2 separate regions of the Homo sapiens genome follow, and region 2 is linked to region 1. The links are contacts of gene promoters, found by promoter capture Hi-C in human tissues and cell types (Jung and others, 2019). All regions are on one chromosome and are shown on one strand. Each heading gives the region's core, a stretch centred on a gene start or on the middle of the fragment in contact. The rest is flanking DNA. Distances are from core to core; before and after follow the strand shown. Region 1 holds the start of IRS2 (insulin receptor substrate 2). Region 2 has its middle 71 kb from the start of LINC00399.

The links. Contacts are between HindIII fragments. The study calls those that stand out against the background at their distance.
Region 2: a fragment that was not itself captured here is called in contact with the fragment with the promoter of IRS2 in region 1 in 1 of the 25 tissues and cell types used here (lymphoblastoid cells).

Annotation. Positions count from the first base shown.
Region 1 is chr13:109,784,076-109,788,091 of GRCh38, reverse strand. It overlaps IRS2 (insulin receptor substrate 2), which reads left to right and starts at 1,509. Exons shown (of 2, transcript NM_003749.3): 1 at 1,509-4,016. The coding sequence starts at 2,039. LOC124903211 (WAS/WASL-interacting protein family member 1-like) reads right to left here and starts at 1,008. Exons shown (of 2, transcript XM_047430835.1): 1 at 647-1,008; 2 at 1-492. The coding sequence starts at 999. The coding sequence ends at 255. RefSeq lists silencers at 1,112-1,281, 1,302-1,531 and an enhancer at 2,373-3,002. The HindIII fragment of the contact is 26,611 bases long and covers 1-4,016 here.
Region 2 is chr13:109,469,348-109,473,635 of GRCh38, reverse strand. No RefSeq gene overlaps it. Among named protein-coding and RNA genes, the nearest start is that of LINC00399, 71 kb to the right of the region's middle. The HindIII fragment of the contact is 3,607 bases long and covers 27-3,633 here.

The DNA of each region.
Region 1 (4,016 bases), core at 260-2,759:
AATTATTTCATGAAGGCACAATTAAAAAAAAAATAAAATAAACAGCCAAAGCCTGTTTTGTTGAGTTTTCTTCGTTGCGCAGGATCGGGAGCTTGCTGGGATCTGAACTCAGGAAGCCCTCACCTCACCCTGACTTGGTCATTGAGGAGACGTAATTGCAGGGGTGCTTATTTGCTATAGGCTTTGAAAGTCACAAAAGCCCAGTAGATACATGAATTCGAAGCAGTTCTCCAAGGGCATCTCCAACTTGGCAGTCACCGCCCGCACCGCGCACACAGGTAGTGGACGCCCGCCCACCTGCCCGTCTGCTGGGCGCAGGGCGCTCCTGGGGTGGGGAGGGCGCTCCTGTGGGGGGAAAAGGGGCGCTCCTGCCTCGGAGGGGGAAAGGACGCCCCTGTGGAAGGAAGGGGGGGCTCTTGAAGCGGTGTGGTGAGAGGACGCTTCCGAGGAAGGAAGGGGGTGCTCCTGCAGCGGTGGGGGGAGAGGACGCCCCTGCGGAAGGAAGGCGGCGCTCCTGCGGGGGCTGGAGAGACGCCCGCGCGGTCTCCCGGCTCAGGGACCGCTGGCTCGCGGGTCCGCCCTCTCCCCGGCGCTATGGAAACCGCACTTTCTCCGCCTGCCGTCCCCGATCTCTTTCTCCTATTACCTCCCAAACGCGATTTCAACTTCCCGACAAGCTGACAAGTGAATGGCGCAGAGGACGCCCCGTAAAGCGCCCGCGAGCGGGTGGGACACAGGCGCCCCCTCCGCGCCCCTCTGTCCTCCACGGAAGGGCGCGCGCCGCTCTCGATCTGGAGCGCGGTGCTCGCGAACCCGCGGCCGCGGGCCCTGGAACCTCCCCGCGTTTCGCGGCTGCGGGGGGACGGAGATGCGGCCGGGAGACGGGGACGGGAAACGGGGGACGGGGATGGGGCGCGCCCACCCCGAGCGCGGGAGCGGCCGCCCTCGCCCAAAATGGGGACCCCGCGCCCCGAGAGCACGGCCCGGCTCGCCGCCCATGCTTCCACTGCAAGGCCGCAGCCCCCGCCGCCGATCCCGATCCCCCGCCCCGCCCAGCCGCGGCCCCGCCCGGCGCCCCCTCCCCGGCGGAAGCTCAAGCCCAATTAATTGAGTCCGAGGCGGGAGGGAAGGGCCCTGCGCGCCGTGGCCCGCCCCGCCCCTCTTCCGCGCCCCTTTTCCCGCCCTGGGTGGCATCTCCTCCGCCGGCATCCACAACAAGCCGCTGATTAATGAGGCCGGGGCCGCCCCACCCCGCCCGGCCGGGCCGGGGCCTTCGCGGGAGGGGGAGGGGACGGCGGGAAACGCGGCCCGGGGAGAAAGGGGGGCGGGGCGGGGGCGCGCGGCCCGCCCCCGCGAGCGCCGCGCCGATTGGCCGAGCGCGCCGTCCGTCGGGGGGCGCGGCGCCAATGCGAGGCAGCGGGGCGGGGCGGCCGCGCTGTGTGTGCCTGCGTAACGCCGAGTCACATGTTGTTTTGCTCTTCTTAGTTCAGTCACTCGGTGCGCGATGTGTTACTCACTGTGCGGCGGGGACCGCGACGAGCCCGGGTCGCCGTTGGCAGCAGCAGCAGCAACACCAGCAGCAGCAGCAGCCCCGGCGGCGGCGCGGACCCCGAGCGCCCGGGCGCACCCCGGCTTCCCGGAGCGCGACGCGGCGGCAGCAGCCCCGGTGCGGCCGCGCGCGCCTTAGGCTCGGCCCCGCGGCTCGGGGACCCCGACTCCCGGCCCAGCGAGCGCGTCCCCCGGCGCCGCCCGAGAGCCCGAGGAGGCAGCGGCCGCAGGCAGCCGGGGAGGGGGGCGGCCACCGCCCGCGCCGGGCATCCTCAGGAGCCCCAGAGCGCGGAGGGCGCGGCGCCGCCGAGCGGTGCTGGCCCCCGCGGGCCTCCCCGGACCTTCCCCACCGCCTGGGCCCGAGGGACGCGTGATCGGGCGGGCGGCCGGGCGCAAGGGTGGGAGGGAGCCGCCCCCGCCCGCGCCCCCTCCGCCCCTCGCCCCAACCCCTGGGCGCCGGGCCCGGGCCGCGCGGCCTGAAGCGCCCGCGATGGCGAGCCCGCCGCGGCACGGGCCGCCCGGGCCGGCGAGCGGAGACGGCCCCAACCTCAACAACAACAACAACAACAACAACCACAGCGTGCGCAAGTGCGGCTACCTGCGCAAGCAGAAGCATGGCCACAAGCGCTTCTTCGTGCTGCGCGGACCCGGCGCGGGCGGCGACGAGGCGACGGCGGGCGGGGGGTCGGCGCCGCAACCGCCGCGGCTCGAGTACTACGAGAGCGAGAAAAAGTGGCGGAGCAAGGCAGGCGCGCCGAAACGGGTGATCGCTCTCGACTGCTGCCTGAACATCAACAAGCGCGCCGACGCCAAGCACAAGTACCTGATCGCCCTCTACACCAAGGACGAGTACTTCGCCGTGGCCGCCGAGAACGAGCAGGAGCAGGAGGGCTGGTACCGCGCGCTCACCGACCTGGTCAGCGAGGGCCGCGCGGCCGCCGGAGACGCGCCCCCCGCCGCCGCGCCCGCCGCGTCCTGCAGCGCCTCCCTGCCCGGCGCCCTGGGCGGCTCTGCCGGCGCCGCCGGGGCCGAGGACAGCTACGGGCTGGTGGCTCCCGCCACGGCCGCCTACCGTGAGGTGTGGCAGGTGAACCTGAAGCCCAAGGGTCTGGGCCAGAGCAAGAACCTGACGGGGGTGTACCGTCTGTGCCTGTCTGCGCGCACCATCGGCTTCGTGAAGCTCAACTGCGAGCAGCCGTCGGTGACGCTGCAGCTCATGAACATCCGCCGCTGCGGCCACTCGGACAGCTTCTTCTTCATCGAGGTGGGCCGCTCGGCCGTCACAGGCCCCGGCGAGCTGTGGATGCAGGCGGACGACTCGGTGGTGGCGCAGAACATCCACGAGACCATCCTGGAGGCCATGAAGGCGCTCAAGGAGCTCTTCGAGTTCCGGCCGCGCAGTAAGAGCCAATCGTCGGGGTCGTCGGCCACGCACCCCATCAGCGTCCCCGGCGCGCGCCGCCACCACCACCTGGTCAACCTGCCCCCCAGCCAGACGGGCCTGGTGCGCCGCTCGCGCACCGACAGCCTGGCCGCCACCCCGCCGGCGGCCAAGTGCAGCTCGTGCCGGGTGCGCACCGCCAGCGAGGGCGACGGCGGCGCGGCGGCGGGAGCGGCGGCCGCGGGCGCCAGGCCGGTGTCGGTGGCTGGGAGCCCCCTGAGCCCCGGGCCGGTGCGCGCGCCCCTGAGCCGCTCGCACACCCTGAGCGGCGGCTGCGGCGGCCGCGGGAGCAAGGTGGCGCTGCTGCCGGCAGGGGGCGCGCTGCAACACAGCCGCTCCATGTCCATGCCCGTGGCGCACTCGCCGCCCGCCGCCACCAGCCCCGGCTCCCTGTCGTCCAGCAGCGGCCACGGCTCGGGCTCCTACCCGCCGCCGCCCGGCCCGCACCCGCCTCTGCCGCATCCGCTGCACCACGGCCCCGGCCAGCGGCCCTCCAGCGGCAGCGCCTCCGCCTCGGGCTCCCCCAGCGACCCCGGCTTCATGTCCCTGGACGAGTACGGCTCCAGCCCAGGCGACCTGCGCGCCTTCTGCAGCCACCGAAGCAACACGCCCGAGTCCATCGCGGAGACGCCCCCGGCCCGAGACGGCGGCGGCGGCGGTGAGTTCTACGGGTACATGACCATGGACAGGCCCCTGAGCCACTGTGGCCGCTCCTACCGCCGGGTCTCGGGGGACGCGGCCCAGGACCTGGACCGAGGGCTGCGCAAGAGGACCTACTCCCTGACCACGCCAGCCCGGCAGCGGCCGGTGCCCCAGCCCTCCTCTGCCTCGCTGGATGAATACACCCTGATGCGGGCCACCTTCTCGGGCAGCGCGGGCCGCCTCTGCCCGTCCTGCCCCGCGTCCTCTCCCAAGGTGGCCTACCACCCCTACCCAGAGGACTACGGAGACATCGAGATCGGCTCCCACAGGAGCTCCAGCAGCAACCTGGGGGCAGACGACGGCTACATGCCCATGACGCCCGGCG
Region 2 (4,288 bases), core at 581-3,080, 310 kb after region 1:
TGGGAGGAGTGAAGAGAGGTTGGTTAATGGGTAGAAACATAGAATTAGATGGAAAAAATAAGTTCCAGTGTTTGATAACACAGTAGGGCGACTATAGTCAACAATAATTTATCATATATTTCAAAATAGAGGAAAATATTTTAAATGTTCCCAGCACAAAGAAATGATAAATGTTTTAGGTGATTGTTTAGGTGATAATTACCCTGATTTGGTCATTACACATTGTATGTGAACATCCAGATATCACACTTTCCCCATCAACAGGTTCAGTTATGTATCAATACAAATTTTAAAATAAGTACAAAGCTACTGATGAGTGTTTAGCTTTATTTACAAAATTTTTCAAATGTGGGTAAAGATTTTTCAGCCTACCAGCTAAATTCTTTTTATATTTATTCACAGCAGCATTAAATTGGTACATTAGTGATTTCCATTCTTGCTTTGTGACAGAAAAGTACATTTGTAATTATATTTATATAAACATTTCAATCTATTATCAACAAAATGTATTTTAATGCACTTTAATTTAAAAAACAAATCCACTCAGCCATGGTGAAAAAGGTTTATGCAAGGAAGGGAGAATGCTGCAGAGCTAAACACTTGAGAATGAAACACAACTCCAAAAGGCAAGACAATTACAGCCCGGAATCCTCCTCCTGAAGCTTCCTTCAGTCTTTTTCCTTCACTCATTGGCCCCTGTCCTCAGAAACATGCCATCAGCAATGACAAGAACAGCTTAAAAACTTGTTTAGATTTTCAGCCTCCCTCCAAGTTATCCCAGCATTTCTCCTTTATGACTCCATATACAAGACCGGGCTCCCGTTTCTTGAGTTCATTTGGTGAACTGAGCCAGCTCCAGCACAGCACAAGGCTGCCTGTCAGGGCTTAACAAGCATTTGGTCTCACTACACCTCCTTTAGATGGAGCTAAGCATGGTAGCCTCCATTTCATGTCGGGTGTCACATTTGGCAAACACGGGTTTGAGTTTTGATTCTCAGTTCTTTCCTAGCTTCAGACAAATTCCATCTACTACTAGTGATCATTGGGCGTACCTCAGCCCACTGTCTTCCGGTCCCTCGCTTTTCCAGGCAGGGGGTGTCTGAAGCTTCTGTCTTTCTGCGTCTCTGAACAGGCACTGGCTGTCTTCATCCCCTGCTTGTCAGGCACATTGCCGAGGACTGTGTCCTATTTCTGATCATACCCCTCATATTAGAGAGTGTCATGGGCAAATGGAAGTCTAACAAGGTGCTCCTTTCCCCTTCTTCTTCTTCTTTTTTTTCTTCTGTCCTGACCACCTAAGCATGAAATTGGATTCAGGTCTGACTTTCTGCCTTGGATCTGTGCCTTAGAGATTTGTGGCCCTCCTTGGATCCACAGAGGGAAAGGCTACCATTCCTACCAGGGACTCCCTGAAGGCCAGCGGTCCTCCCCTTCCCTGGTCTTGCCCTTGTGGGAATCCATCATGACTCTAGATGTGTGGTTTTTGAGCAAAGTATTCACAAGTGTAAAAAATATAATCTCAATGGTGGCTGCAATAATTGAATTTGGATAACACGTGTGAATAGGCCTAGGACAGGCCTGGTAAACACACAACAATGGTTTTCTTATTTTCTTTCTGAGGATAAATTGTTTAATCTTTAAAATACTTAAATGCTAGACATGACAGCGTTTGGCTTGTAGATACTAGATTATCAAAGGTGATTTTTTTTTTTAAAGAATGCTTGTCTCAGCCTAAACCATGACTTGAAGGACCAGAAGTACAATATATTTTCTCCCTTTTATAGAAATATAGAGGGCACCATGTGTCAAGAGCCTCAGCCACAGCCCAGCTTAACTGGATCGTAAACATTACAAAGTTTTCTGTAAACAGCCATGGTCTCAGGATATCTTTAACCTGGTTTCAGTTGTATGCACTATTAAAATTCTTTCAAAACCAGGCTGAAAGGAAAGGAAATAAGAGATACTAGTATACCCTGGGCTACAGAAACAGAACATTGGATGGATATATAAGACAGATCCCATCTGGGTATTCAACGCATAGGCTCAGGAATTTCTGTCTGTTTTGTTTGATGCTGTAATGCCAACATCTATCATGGTAACTAGCATAATAGATAAAGATGCGCCGAGTGACTGATTTGCATTTGAGAAGGGGGCAACTAAAACTTGAAGGACATTTTTTAAAAGCAGGATTCAATATTGCCTGAGTTTGATATTCCAGTTACAATGCATTCGTTATTCAAAAACATTCTTAAATCTTAAATACAAGCAAACAGAAACTGATATTTCAATTTTCTTTTTACAGTTTTTATTTTCATTTTCCATTTTAGCTTTTGTAACATTATTTGAATGAAGTCACCATCATATTTAAAGTACAAGGTCAGCTGAGCCGAGAAAATAGAACAAAGAAAACAGAACAATTTTTTTTAGAAGGAAATGGCGGTATTCATATTCATAAAAGCAAATTTTAATCCAACAGCGAAAAAGGGAGTTAGAAATACAATGGATATATGTTGGGCAGTGAAGAATTCTTATTGCCATTCTTTGCTGAAAAAATTCATGGATGCATTCATCATTTTCTTCTCTCAAAAATGAAAGCAGTAAAACAAATGAGAGACCTAATTTTTAGTTCAAATAAATGAAAAGAAATGGGCCAAGATCCACTTCATTCCCTGAGAAAAAGAAAGAATACAAATGAGGTTTATTATGAGGCATTTGGAAACTAATGATCTCAAGTCAGCTGCAGGAATGCGCTTTTTGACAGCACATGGTTTATCAGTGTCGTTAGCAGAAAGCTCAGACTTGTGTTGAAGCTCAACTTCATCTAAAAGGATGTACTTTTGGTGCATGAAGTTTCAGCTACATGTGGCCTAACCTGGCCCCCATTCGCGTCTGTTTCTAAAGCATAACTTTGCAAACAGCTCTGAGCCACCATTTTGGTGCAGTCAGCTCAGCCGTGAATGAAGTTCGACATTCCCTTGGGTCAGGCGTGTGTACTTCCGTAAGCACAGACTACACCCTGGGTATCATTCACCTTATTTTAAATACATGCATGTCCTCACAGGGTCATGTGTGTAAGAGTCTGGGCAGGGTGTGTAAGAATCTAGGAAGGGTACCAGCAAATATAAATAAATTAACAAATGATACGACTTAAGAATGTCAGACTACTGTTGTCATCTTTGACTTCCATCTAGAGTCCAGATGAGAAGTGAGATGTGTGTTTTCATGCTTACAATTTCACTTCTCTCTAGCCTCCCCTCTGTATGACCAGACGGAGATTTATCTAACAGTGGCTGTGGGGAAATCTTGCTGTTAAACATTAGATTCCTTCCTAGATACGATTTTGTAGAATGATCATGTTGTGTACAAGGAGAAACTGTCCCAGATTCCTGTGTCATTCATATGGAGACAATGTTTATTTGAAGGACATCATACAAAAAGGGACCCTAGAGGCCCACAGGTAGCCGCAAATACAACATAATCCACGAGAAGACTGTGCGCTCACCTTGCTAGATTCCCAGGTATCACTTGACAGGGGCTGATCTCACTGTGCCCCCGTCCTGTTCATGATACTATTTTACACACACAACACCTCAGTACTTTGGATGAGCTATAATAATTCTGAATTAGAAGGAGCTGGACTAAAGTTTATCCTTAACTAGATATGTTTAAAATGTTATTATGTAGCAAAGAGGAATGGAGAGAAAATTATTTAAATCCATAGTATATATCATATGTCAAAAGAAAATTTGGCTAAAAACTAAAAAAAAAAAAAAACCCTAAAAATTCTTGAAAAACAAGGAACAACATTTTAAAAAGGATTTCTCACAATGTTGGGAGAAGTATGCCAAACACGTAATGAAATTACGGAAAAAAATTTCTCAGTCAGTTCAGCCTACTGTAACAAATTGCTACAGACTGGGTTGCTTCAACAACAAACACTTATTGCTCACAGTTCTGGAGGCTGGAAAGTCCAAGATCCAGGCCCCAGCAAATCTGGTGTCTGGCTTCCTGGTATACAGATGGCCACCTTCTCATTGTGTCCTCATGTGGCAGAAAGCAGAGGGATAAAGCTCTCACGTCTCTCCTTATAAAGCCACTAATCCCATTCAGAGGGCTGCACCCTCAGGACCTAATCATCTCCCAAAGGCTTCACCTCCTAACACCATCACCCTATGGATTAGGATTTCTGCACATGAATTTTGGGAAACACACTTAGTCCGTAACACAAATGGTTGACAGATCTTTTACCATAAAATGTTAACCATATAGAATGTGAAAAACAATAGAA